Linked DNA regions of Homo sapiens: regions 1 and 3 are each linked to region 2. The links are contacts of gene promoters, found by promoter capture Hi-C in blood cells and fetal thymus (Javierre and others, 2016). All regions are on one chromosome and are shown on one strand. The core of a region is centred on a gene start or on the middle of the fragment in contact, and the rest is flanking DNA. Distances in the headings are between cores, read along the strand shown. Region 1 overlaps LOC105374318 (a long non-coding RNA gene). Region 2 holds the start of PUM2 (pumilio RNA binding family member 2). Region 3 overlaps LOC105374317 (a long non-coding RNA gene).

Region 1 (3,995 bases), core at 109-2,608, 980 kb after region 2:
CATGGACAAGAGGGCAGAAGCTGTTGCCATTGGGGAAGTATTCTCTCCTGCGATCTTTTTCTCTTTGTCCTTCTCTCTGGTGCCTGGAGCCTGGCATGGACTCTCCTTCCTTATGTTAAAGTAGTAGGAGGCAAGATCCCAATCCAGGCTTAGGAGAAGCAGAGAAGGTAGGGCCTTTGGTTTCCCCAGCACAAGGAAAAACAGTCCTTCCTCTTGCTCATTAGAGCCACATGTTAGGGCTTGGGACCAAACATCAGGTATCAGTATGATCTAGCTGCACCTTACCCTCTGGATGTATTTATTTCACTCGGAGACCTTTCACATTGTAGTGTTCTAGGACAGGATTGGGTGGTTTAAGCCTTGATCTAATACTATCTTAATCTCATCAGAATTTCTCTCTGTCTCGTCTCTCTCTTGAGAAACTGATTTTACAAATAGAGAATGGCCAGACCGTATATAAAAATAGAACTCTGACTCGCAATCTGTAGCAATCAGTCCAGAAGGACAAACCACAACCTCTGTAGCAATCAGCCCCAAACAGTCAGGAGTTGAATCAATAACTGCCAGCTGCACTATCTTTTGCCCTGTTTCCAGTTTAGAACTAACCAGGGGAAGCTAAATACGCTCTCCTTTCCAATTACACAGGATGCCCTGATTCTAGTGAGCCTACCTCCAGCTTCCCTTATGCCAAAAACCTCCAATAGTGGCATATCTGAATCTTCCCTTTTTGTTCATTATAAAGCTTTTATACTCCACTGCCTACCTTTAGTGTCTCTGAACTGGAAGTAATGTCCTTGCTCTAGCAAGCTCTGAATGATCTTTGCTTGTTCTCATTTGAGTGGTCTTTGTTTCCAGACTTTATCTGTGTATTTTCCTATAGGTATATGACTATATATACAGAGAAATATATACCATAAAGGGAGAAATATCTAGTATCTGTAGAAATATACACAATAACCACAATAAATATATATTGCTATATTAGTTTCATATTGGAAAACTAAATGCACAGGGTGGTCACATTGGAACTCAAGGAAGGCCTGGCTTCCAGCACACTTTCAAGAAGTTCTAAAACTCCAAAAAAGAAGAAAAACTATAGGCTGGAATCAAGGAAGTCTCTGGGAGTGAGAAACTGGAGCAGAAGCCAGGTGGAGACAGGAAGTCAGAGGTCAGTGTGATTTATCTGTAGTGCAATACAATTATGTCAAAGACTAGTCTGGAAGTACTCTTGTGAGCAGAGAGGGAGAGAGACTGAAGGCAGGAATGCTAGCCAAGTCTCTTCAACAGTGTAGAAGAAATTCTGAGATCACCCAAGAAGAAGGGATAAAATACTACTTCTTCGAGCCATATTGTGATGGCTAATTTTATGGGTCAATGTGACTGGGCCACTGGATGTCCAGATGTTTGGTCAAACATTCTGAGTTTCTGTGAGGGTGTTAATGGATTAGATTAAGGTTAAAATCTTAACCTTAATCTAAAGCAGATTTTCCTCCACAATATGGTGGGCCTCATCCAATCAGTTGAAGGCTTGAATAAAGCAAAAGGCTGACCCTTTCTCAAATATGAAAGGATTAGCCCGTTTGAATGCCTTTTGAGTGAAACATCAGCTCTTCATCAGCTCTATCACAGCTACTGGCTGTTGGACTTAAACTATGACATTGGCCCTGTAGATCTTAGACTTGGCCTTCCTAATGACATGAACGAATTCCTTATAATAAATTTCTTTATATATAGGATATACATATAAAATATAGAAAATTTATATACAGGATATAAATATATATATGCGTGCACACGTGTGTGTCTATAGAGGATATATATACATAGGCTACAGATAGAATATATATAGATTGTGTTTCTCTGGAGAACCCTATAGTATACTATAGCATAGGAAATGTTTCCTGTTCTATAGGAACCATTTTTCAAGTTTGATTAGACTTAAAAGGCTAAGCTGGTATTTTGAATGAAGGAAATTGAAGCTTTTAAGCTACAGAATGAAATCATTAGTAGAAATGGAAAAACAAAGAAGGCCAGAAATGATATGGGGCAGGGGAAGTAGGGGATTGGCTAGTTCTCTTTGGAATATATTGAGTTTTAAATGACAGTAGGATATCCAAGAACAGCCGAGGAGCTGTATATGTTTTATAAAACATCCTCTGTAATGTTATTTGAAAGGAAAAAAAAGCAGTGAGATATAAAAGTTTAATGGATTATAGAGAGACTGATTTCTTGAAACAATTATCCCCAGCTCTGACACCACAGGTTATCACCAGTTTTCTTAAGGAATGTCACCAAATTTTAATCAAAATTAATTTTAGTTTATTTTGCTCACTAATCATGATCTGAAACAGCACACATCAGTGGGGATGAAGTGGAATGAAGTAGTCTCTCATATACCACTAATATTTTGCAACAACAGGCAAGTTGTAATTGTTATGCAAAACTGTCTAGATTGCCAGTTTACACTGAACTCAGCAGGTGACCCCTTCACTCTCCAATTCTCTTTGCATGTGCATAACCAGACTCAATGGTGTACAGAGGGACTGCTCAAAAATGTTGACTGTCAAATGCATAAACATGAACCAGGGTTAGAAAAACAGGATTAATGCAGCCTGCTTAATGAGTGTTCTCTGCAGAATGACTCTTCAGCAAGGAGGCAAATGTCCAATAGATTCAAGAATGTAACTGGAGCAGCAAAAACAGGTCCACTGGTGGCGTCACTCTCCGAGCTGTCTGATGCCCTGCTTTGCGCTTCAGTCCCTGCACACTGAATCGTTAACCTTTGGCACTGCGTAGGGTTCAGCATTTCAGAAGTGTCTTGATTATGAAAAATCTGCCAGCACTAATGGGGAACCTCTGACCCAGGTGCCAGCCCAGCCTTACAGCTCCACAGCTGCTGCAATTTTGATTGAAAAACAGGTCTCTGGTGTCAGGAACAAAGTAACTGGGAATTGGGCCACCTGTAATAGTTACACTTTTATGCAAACCATGAAGATTCGTCTTATTTTTTTTCTTTTCTTCTTTTGCTGTCAAAGGACTGATTTCCTACATTGTCTGAACACAACACATACAAATCACCATCTTCAACTGCCTTCTACTCATATATTTCAGTTAGGGACCTACTGCATGCCAGCTCACTGCTAGTTGCTGTTTTTTTTTGTTTTGTTTTGTTTTTTTTTTTATGAGAGAGTGTCATGGTTACACACACCCACGCCCACATACACATGGATGCACATTGGTGCCAGGTGCTGTAAGTCACGTTAATCCTGCCTGGTAGTCAGATAAGAGGGAAATCATTGTAGACTTGAGCAGCTGGGAAGGCTTCTTGGAAGAGGAGTAAGGGGCCTGGGCATGGAAGGATAAGTGGGATAGGCAGAGAAGAAGTGGAAAGGGCCTTTAAAGCTGAGAAAACAGTCTGGATTGGGGCTTTAAACCACTGGAGTTCTGCTTGGAGGTCATGTTTACATCACTAGTAATTAACGTATGACAGACCACAATGCTGATTAAATATTAGCTTACCTATTTGTTGAGCCTTGTATATTCAGGGGATAGTAGACAGCATGCTCTGGATTTTTCAGAAATCCTCCAAAATAAAATGAGCCCCCAAACCCCCAAACAACCTCTGTAAGAGCCCCACCAACGTGTTTCTGTAGCTGTGTTTTCCCAGTTTCCTTTCGTGAAAGGACGTGATCATTGTGTGGTAGAACCCCGAAAGGTAGGCTCGAGTACCTAATGTGCAGTATGCCAAATGCTGACACATCATGGCTTAGGAGTAGAGAAAGGTTTATTTGATTTTGCCAAAGTGTGAGGGCAGGAGAGAGAGGCAAACTCTCAAATCTAACCTGCCTTTGAATATAACTGGGGGCTTTTATGAGTAAGGAAGGTATGCAGGAGGTGAGATCCCCCAATGATGAAAGCTGCTTGTGTCCTTCTGTGATCAAACTTCTGGATGCCACCACGGAGGTCTGCATGACCTAAGGATCATTGTTCTTTAA
Region 2 (3,650 bases), core at 519-3,018:
TAATTAATTTAGGCTCTTTTAAAAAGTTGAAATCTTGCTAAATGCTGAAACACCTAAGAGAACTTTGGACTCAAATTAAGGAAAGCATGTGTTAAACACAGCTTAAATTGCTGGAAAATGCGTAAGTTACTGGCAATTATAACTCAAAATAGCTAGACCTGTAAACAAAATTTAAAAACTGGACTTAAATCCTCAAGAACCAGGTTTCTGAAATAAAATTTTATTTTTAAGATTATCGTAAACCTTTTCTGCATACAAAAACTGCCCTCATGCACACCAAGAAAATTCTACACAATGCAATTTCACCAAAAATCGGAATTTTAAAGAAATTCTTGCAGCACGGAAAATGCCATCATTTTTATTCATAATGATTGAGCAAATGAAGTAAATCATTGTTTAAAAGGAGGCTAGGAAGAGAAACAAGTTGAAAATACTCATTTTTGTTTTTTTTTTTTTATTTACAGGATTCCTTAAGTCATCTTCCAATACTCCAGGTCACATGGTGAAGAGTCACCTGTTAAACACGAAATCTAACCATTAAACAAGCTTTTAAAATCCTTCGGTAACTCCCTTTATTAAAATTGTTTTCTTGACATACAGTACCTTTACAGGTATTACATTTCTCTTCACCGTTTACAAGCATTTTTCTCATGTTTTCCTTCACCAAAACATCTGCCCCGTTTTCTCAACAAGTAAAAATCTCAAAGTACTAAGTCCTAACATGATGTCTTATTGCACCTAATATGCTGGCAATACATTCCTCTCTTCAAAAGTTTACGTATGTTAGAATAAAAAGCTAAGTTAAGTAGGTTTTCTCTGGCTGTGTTTTCAGAAACAACACTAACTTTTACACGTGTTTGGGCATGAAACTTTAAACATTTTCCCCAAAACCTGACCCAATTCAGATACAAAACTACTGCTCAAATAGTAGAAGCCGCTAATCTTGTCTTTGGTTTTAATTTACATATTTTTCTGAATATCGAAATCCGTTCCTATAACCTAAACAAGGCGAATCCAAGTCACTGCTTCATACCCACATCTGTCCACGGCAAGCTTTTCCCGGACACACTCGGGCCTTTGAAAATGCCCACACTTGTTTTCATAAACCCACTCCTTCCTCTTCACCCACTTGCAATCCGCATGCTTCTCTGGGGCCACCCGGCCTCTCCCCTCTTTCCGAACCCTAGGGCCGACAGCTCGGTCTCTAACCTCCAGCGCGCCGAATCGGAGGGAGAACCGGGTCGGCGCCCCACGCCCCCGAGGCGGCGGCCCCGCAGAGGGAAGGAAGCGGGAAAGCGGCCGGCGCGGCGCCCCCTCCCCCGCACGCGCACACCCCCTTCCGGCACCCCTCCCCCTGCATTGTGCGAGCGGGCCCCAGGCCGCACCGGCCCGGGCACTCAGCAGGCCCTATCCGCCCTCCCGCTGGCGATCGGCTCCCGCCGAGGCCGCCGCACAAAGCCTGGGGAGCCATCCTCGACGGCGCCAAAGGACCGGAGAAAGAGCGAACGCGGACTGACTTACAGGGCTGCTGCGGCCGCGCTGCCTCAGCCGGGGACACCGACCGTTGGGCACACGGCGGCGTCGCTCTTGGCGGTCCTCCCCCTCCTCCGCCTTCGGTGGCGGCAATGTCTTCTTTCTCCACCTACCACCCTCCCCCCCCACCCCACCTCCTCCTTCTCCTCCCCCTCCTCCTCCGAACCACCGAAGTACCGAGGGTGAGACACAGAGACTCACAACAACATGGCTGCCACCGCCGCCTGCCCTCCCCTCCCCCCCGCCCACCGGGCGCGCGCAGTGCACCCCGGGAGAAAGGGGAGGGGGAGCGCTCACCAAGGCGCGGCTCCTTTTAATGCCTTGCGTCCCTGCTCCCGCGCTGCCGCCGCGCGGGCCGGGGGCGCCCTGCGCGTGCGCACGTTCTCCGCGCTCTCACGTGTTTGGCCGCCTCTCCGGCGTGCCCTCCCCCGCCCTCACCTTGCGGGCTCGCGCTTCCCTCCTGGGCTCCGCCGCGGCGGGCTCGGAGAGCGCAGGCGTACTGTTGCCAAACGCTGTGTTCGACTGTCTTCCCGCGTGGGGCCTCGCCTTCTGAATCTTCTTACCCTCGGCTTCCTACCCGGTTGCTCACTGTTTTCCCCCAACTGGGTGTGCGGGTGTCTGCGCCCGCGCCGCCCACCGTGGGGTACTCCTGGCATTTCGCTTCCAGAGTGCTGGCGCCCACAAGAGCCGGACGTTAATTCAGGCCTTTAACTTTCACTCTGTACCTCCCCACAACCAGACGAGGGAGATGCATCTGGGGGTGGAAGATTGTACCCTGCGAGAGGGCTGTCACTCTTCTCGTGGTTGCACCCCAGGCAGGTGGAGCCAGCTCTCAGCAAATTGTCGGCCCCCAGTGCTTGGTCCCGGTGCACACAAAGGAAACTCAGGTCGTTCTCCAGCTGGGCCAGTGATTCTCACTCGTTGGCTGTTTCTTTTTCTCGCGTACTAAGCGCTCTCTCCTTCCCCGTTTACAGGCTAGTTGGAAACTCCAAATCTGCCTTGCTGTCCTGGACCCCCATGCAAAGCAGTGGTGATTCCAGGATTCTAACCTAACCGGCTCCAGGTCACACAGCTGTAACAGGCACCGTGTCCGATTTGTTCTTGATGGTTTGTTTGCACAGCTCCTGGCTCTCCTGACATGCTGCACTTCGTAAATATTCAGGGCCTCCCGTATAGTTTGCTTAATATATGTCTTCCCTAGGCGACTGTGAGCTCCACGAGGGCAAGGACCTTGTGTTTTGTTTCACACTGTGCCCGCAAGTGCCTGTTGAATACACATGGGCTCTTCGGTTTTTAACTATTACTGAAAAATGTCTGACATTGAAATCCATCCCAAGCCCCTACCTTAGGCTCATATTTCAGGCTTCTAGATATTTTCACTTGAATTTTCTTGTCACCAAGCATGTTAAAAACTGAAGTCACACCCATCCCCTACCCCCCACTCTTGTACTGTCTCTGTAATTGGCAGTGTCACCACCTATTCATTCCCCAAATTACACCTCTGAGAACCATCCTTGTCTCTTCCTCTTACCCCGACTCCAAATATAAATAACTTACCAAGCCTCGCAGATTTTTACTTCCCAAGTAATTCTGGAGACAGTCTTCCTCTGCCTCCTCACTAATGCTAGCCTTGCTTCCCAGGTCTGGATTTCTGTAGCTGGCTCTTAATCAGCTTTCCTGTCTCCAGTCTCACTCCCTCCAATCAGTTCTGCTCACTGCTATCTAAAATGCAAATCCAATTCCTGGCGCTCAGGCCTCTGCTTCAACCATCTCATTGCTCCCCATCACCCACGACAGCATTTCCCTAGTGTGCTGTGTTCAGTGTTAATAGATGTTCCTTTAAGAAATGTCTCACGATCAAGTAAGAATGGGAGATGCTGGGGTGTACACATTTTGCCTTCCTTCTCCTTTCCCCTCCGTTGAGCTGATAATAGCAGAAGAGTCTTTATATACAGTTGCTTAGTGTGGGTGAAACTAGATAAATCCATCACAGGCCCTCCCTTAGAATATGGAATTGGGACTAAGAGACCCCAACCTCGAAAGTCTCTTGGACCTGGGATCCCTTGGGCAGACTGGTTCCATCCTGTAAGACAGGGAACCTGTAGAGAAAGAGTGGA
Region 3 (4,014 bases), core at 1,479-3,978, 880 kb after region 2:
TCAGGTGGAAAACTGGGAGGAAGATCTAAACAATTTGTTTGCCTTTCTCTTCGATTATTTTTGGGAGAGATTTTGTTGTGCTTCCCAAGGAGGCTATTTTCCATTATAAATGATGCTGCTTACAATAAGACTAAAAGCTTCATTAAGCTAAAAAAAAGAGGAAAAGGAAACAAAGTAGCTCACATATCAGTATTGCATGGAAGCAGTTCTGAAGAATACATTAAAGATAATGAGTATTAGGCTACTTAAATTATTTACAAGACTTCAAAAATTATAATATGTTGTCTGGAAATAGAAGTTGGTTCTCTGCCACATTCTAGTCAGTTTCCTAGACTGTAGAATGATTGGGTATTTTCTCTGGGACCCCCACACTCAGGTCTAAAGGGGGTCCCTAAATGATTTTAGCTGAGGTAAAATGAATGGGCTTCAGTAAAATCCCACGTACTTGTGTGGAGGGTCCAGCCTTGTCCCCTACCACACTTTCCCCTTTTCTCTTAGAAGTCATCAGCTCTGTACCATTCTAAACTTACTCTGAGGATTGAAGGGCTCATACCTCCTGTAGGCAAAGATGAAGTCAAAAGAATGATTATTTAATGGCAGAGTTTTAGGCCGTGCTCTACCTAGATCTATAATTCAACCTAGGTATGAAGGATCATCGAGTTGCCATTCCTCTTCTGTATGATTTGCTTCAGAAATAATTTTCACACCTGTCACTCTTGTCTGGGTCAGAGAGTTGCAGCCAAGATCACATTTTAAAATCCTCCTGAAGAGTACAGTATAGAGGAAGAGGGCTAATCTGGGAGTCAGGAGACTTCCCTTGTCTCATTAACATTAGTAACTCACCACGTAGCTTTAAGGAAGTCTAGTCTTCTTTCTGGACATCAGTTTCTACATCTGTAAAATGAGTTTTATACCATGTTGGAAAGGATTGTTGGATTAGATTAACTATTAGGTTCATTCCGTGGAGCTTTGGTATAGAAACATGGGACTTTATTAAGATATATTTCAAATGTACAGAATTGTGTCCTTGAGGATAATAAACAACCATTACCAATATTAAAATGTTGCCATCTTTGCATCTGATTTTAATGTAACAAAAACTTTTGCTTGAAGCTGGAGGATGCTGGGCACCCACATCTGATCTCATTGTACATCCTTCTTTCTTCCCTTTCTGAAGGTAATTACTATTTTAAATTTTGTGTTTAGTATGACTGTACATGGGTTTCACAGTTTTCAAAATATGTATATATTCCTAAACAATACATAGGATTGTTTTTCATGTTTTCCAACTTTACGTAAATGACATTATATTGACATACTATTCTGCAACTTGCTTTTTTGCTCAATATTCTTGCATGTATTATGATTTTTATTATTGTAGAGCTACTTCATTTCTTTTATAATGACTACTACGGTATATGATATTTCATTGCACAAACATACACAATTTATACAGCCATTCTTTTACTGATATACATTTGCATTGTTTTTAATTTTTCACGATTCCAAACAATACTGCAATAAACATTCTTCTGTAGCAGTCTCTCTTACTGCATGTATGTGAGTGTTCTCTACATATAAAGCTGGAGGTGGAAATTGAGTAATTGGTTGTGTATATCATCAGCTTTACCAGAGTTACATAATACTCGAAAGTAATCACTTAAAACTCTGACAAATAGTATGTAAGATTTCTGGTTTCTTTTCGTCATTGCAAACACTTGACATTGACTTGCTGCTTTTGCCAATCTGTTGTACTTAAAATTATTTCTAATTTTTGTAATTTATGTTTCCCAGAAGACTTAGAAATGAAGTTGAAACTGTGGTTGAGCATTTTTCCATATTTTTATCGGTCTTTTGGCTTTCCTGTTCTATAAGAAATCTATTGGTATCCTCTACTATTTTCTTTACTGGATTGTTTGCATTTTTAATATTGCTTTGTATGGGTTCTTTATACATTGTGGATATATATTTCACAGTAGCATGTGTTGAATGCTTCTGCTAGTCTGTAGCTTTTTTTAATCTTTGTGACATTTTTGTTTTTAATTTAATCGGTGTGACAGATTGTATTTTCCAAAGATAGCCACAAGGGTGTCTGCTGTCCAACAGACTCTTCTAGAACTTTGCCACTCCCTCAAAAGATGGAACCTATGTCTCTTACACAGAAAATTGGGAGAGACCCTGTGACTGCCTTGACCAGTACAGTTTGGCAGAAGTGTTGTTAGGTGACTTCTAATGCCAAGTCACACACAAAAATGCTATTTCTGCCAGGTTATCTTGGAATACTTTGTCTTGGAATTCAGCCCTCATGCTGTGAAGAAGTGCAAGCGGACTACGGGGAGGCTGATGAGGCAAGGAACCAAGGCCCCTGGTCTGCAGCTCCAGCTGAGCTTGCAGCTGCCAGCCTGCATGAGCTCTCCAGCCTGTGAGAGAGCCATCCTGACAGAGGGTTACCCTCAGTCAAGTAGCACTAGATGTGGAGAAGAGACAAGTCATCCCTGCTTACAAGGCCTACTTACACTGCAGATTTGTGAGCATAATAAGCCATTAAGTTTTGGGTGGTTTGTTAATAAGTAATAAATAATTGATAGAGCCAGATATATCAGTCTTATCTGTTACTGTGTCTATGTGTTATCTGTTACTGTGTCTATGTGCATGCATACACACGCATGCATGTATGTTCTTAAATTCTTTTCTATAATACCTCACAGCCATAAAGGTATGGATTTATCTTTTTATCTAAAAGTTTTAAAGTCCCACTCTTATCTTTTTAGTTTATTTAATACCGACATGAATGTATAGTGTGAAGTGGGGACATAATTTTTTCCGTGTAGATAAATAGTTTTCCCAACACAATTGGCTAGTCTAACTATGGATTTTAGTGCTACCTGTGTTCTGTATACATTTCTGTATACTTGTTTTTTGTTTGTTTGCTTATTCCTGTGCTAATATCACATTGCCTTATTTGCTGTAGCTTTAGAGTCAGTCTCCACATTTGTCAGGACATGCTGCGTTATTCAGTCTTTTAATTCACAATTATTGTGATAACTTTTGGCCTTTTCTTCTTTAATATAAATTTTAATATTAGCTTGTTGAGTTCTGCAAAATATTCTGTTGACGTTATTGATAGATTAATTTGGGAAGACTTGTGTATGGCTACATTCACTTAGAATTTTTCTATTATAAATGGCATATATAAATATTACATTTGAATTGTTGCTATTATCAAGGAATACTTTATTTTTTCATTTAGGTATGATTTACATGAATAAAATAGACCCATTTTAAGTGTGTGGTTTGTTGAGTTTTGAGAAATGTATAAATTCCTGTAACAAACATCTTTATCAAGACCTCACTCTCATCCCAGAATGCTCTCATCCCTCTTTCTAAAAAATTCTTTCCCAGCCAAAGGCAGCTACTGTTCTGGGCTTTATCTGTGTAGAGTAGATTTTTCTCCTCTTGATCTTCATGTAAAATAAATAATTCAGGGTGTATTTTGTTCAGTGCAGTTTCTTTCCTTCATTACAGCTTTTGTGAGATTCATCCATGTTGTCGATAACAATAGATTTTTCTATTTAACTAGTGAATAGTATTACATGGTATAAATATGCCACAATTTCTTTATACTCCTGTTTATGGGCATGTGGGTTGTTTTCAATTTGTGACTCTTATAAATAATTTTACTAAAGATATTCCTCTACAAGTCTCTATGTGGGCATATATTTTCATTTTTTCTTGAGTAAACACCTGGAATGAAATTGCTGGGACATAGGATAGGTACTTATTTAACTTTGAAGAAATTGCCAAATTGTTTTCTGAGTTGATTTTACTATTTAAATTCCCACCAGCAATGCATAAAAGTTTAAGTTGCTCCACCAACATTTGTGCTGTTAACTTTTCAGATTTTCAGCATTTTAGTGAGCATGCGGTAGCATCAAATTAATAGTTTAAATTGCATTTTGTTCTTATTACTGGTCACATTGAACATCTTTTTCTGTGCTTAAGTGTCTTTTCCAA

What was found. Contacts are between HindIII fragments. The CHiCAGO score rates a contact against its expected background, and 5 or more counts as called.
Region 1: a fragment that was not itself captured here is called in contact with the fragment with the promoter of PUM2 in region 2 in 1 of 17 cell types (M2 macrophages); the score reaches 5.9 in M2 macrophages.
Region 3: a fragment that was not itself captured here is called in contact with the fragment with the promoter of PUM2 in region 2 in 2 of 17 cell types (M1 macrophages and monocytes); the score reaches 7.2 in M1 macrophages.

The regions. Positions count from the first base shown.
Region 1 is chr2:21,330,664-21,334,658 of GRCh38, forward strand. All of the region lies in intron 2 of LOC105374318 (a long non-coding RNA gene), which reads left to right. Among named protein-coding and RNA genes, the nearest start is that of TDRD15, 210 kb to the left of the region's middle. The HindIII fragment of the contact is 1,237 bases long and covers 741-1,977 here.
Region 2 is chr2:20,349,076-20,352,725 of GRCh38, forward strand. It overlaps PUM2 (pumilio RNA binding family member 2), which reads right to left and starts at 1,769. Exons shown (of 21, transcript NM_015317.5): 1 at 1,522-1,769. RefSeq lists a silencer at 1,152-2,041 and enhancers at 1,237-1,866, 1,867-2,498, 2,202-2,291, 2,499-3,128. The HindIII fragment of the contact is 4,637 bases long and covers 1,052-3,650 here.
Region 3 is chr2:21,232,571-21,236,584 of GRCh38, forward strand. The region is part of intron 1 of LOC105374317 (a long non-coding RNA gene); the gene reads left to right. Among named protein-coding and RNA genes, the nearest start is that of TDRD15, 110 kb to the left of the region's middle. The HindIII fragment of the contact is 5,187 bases long and covers 136-4,014 here.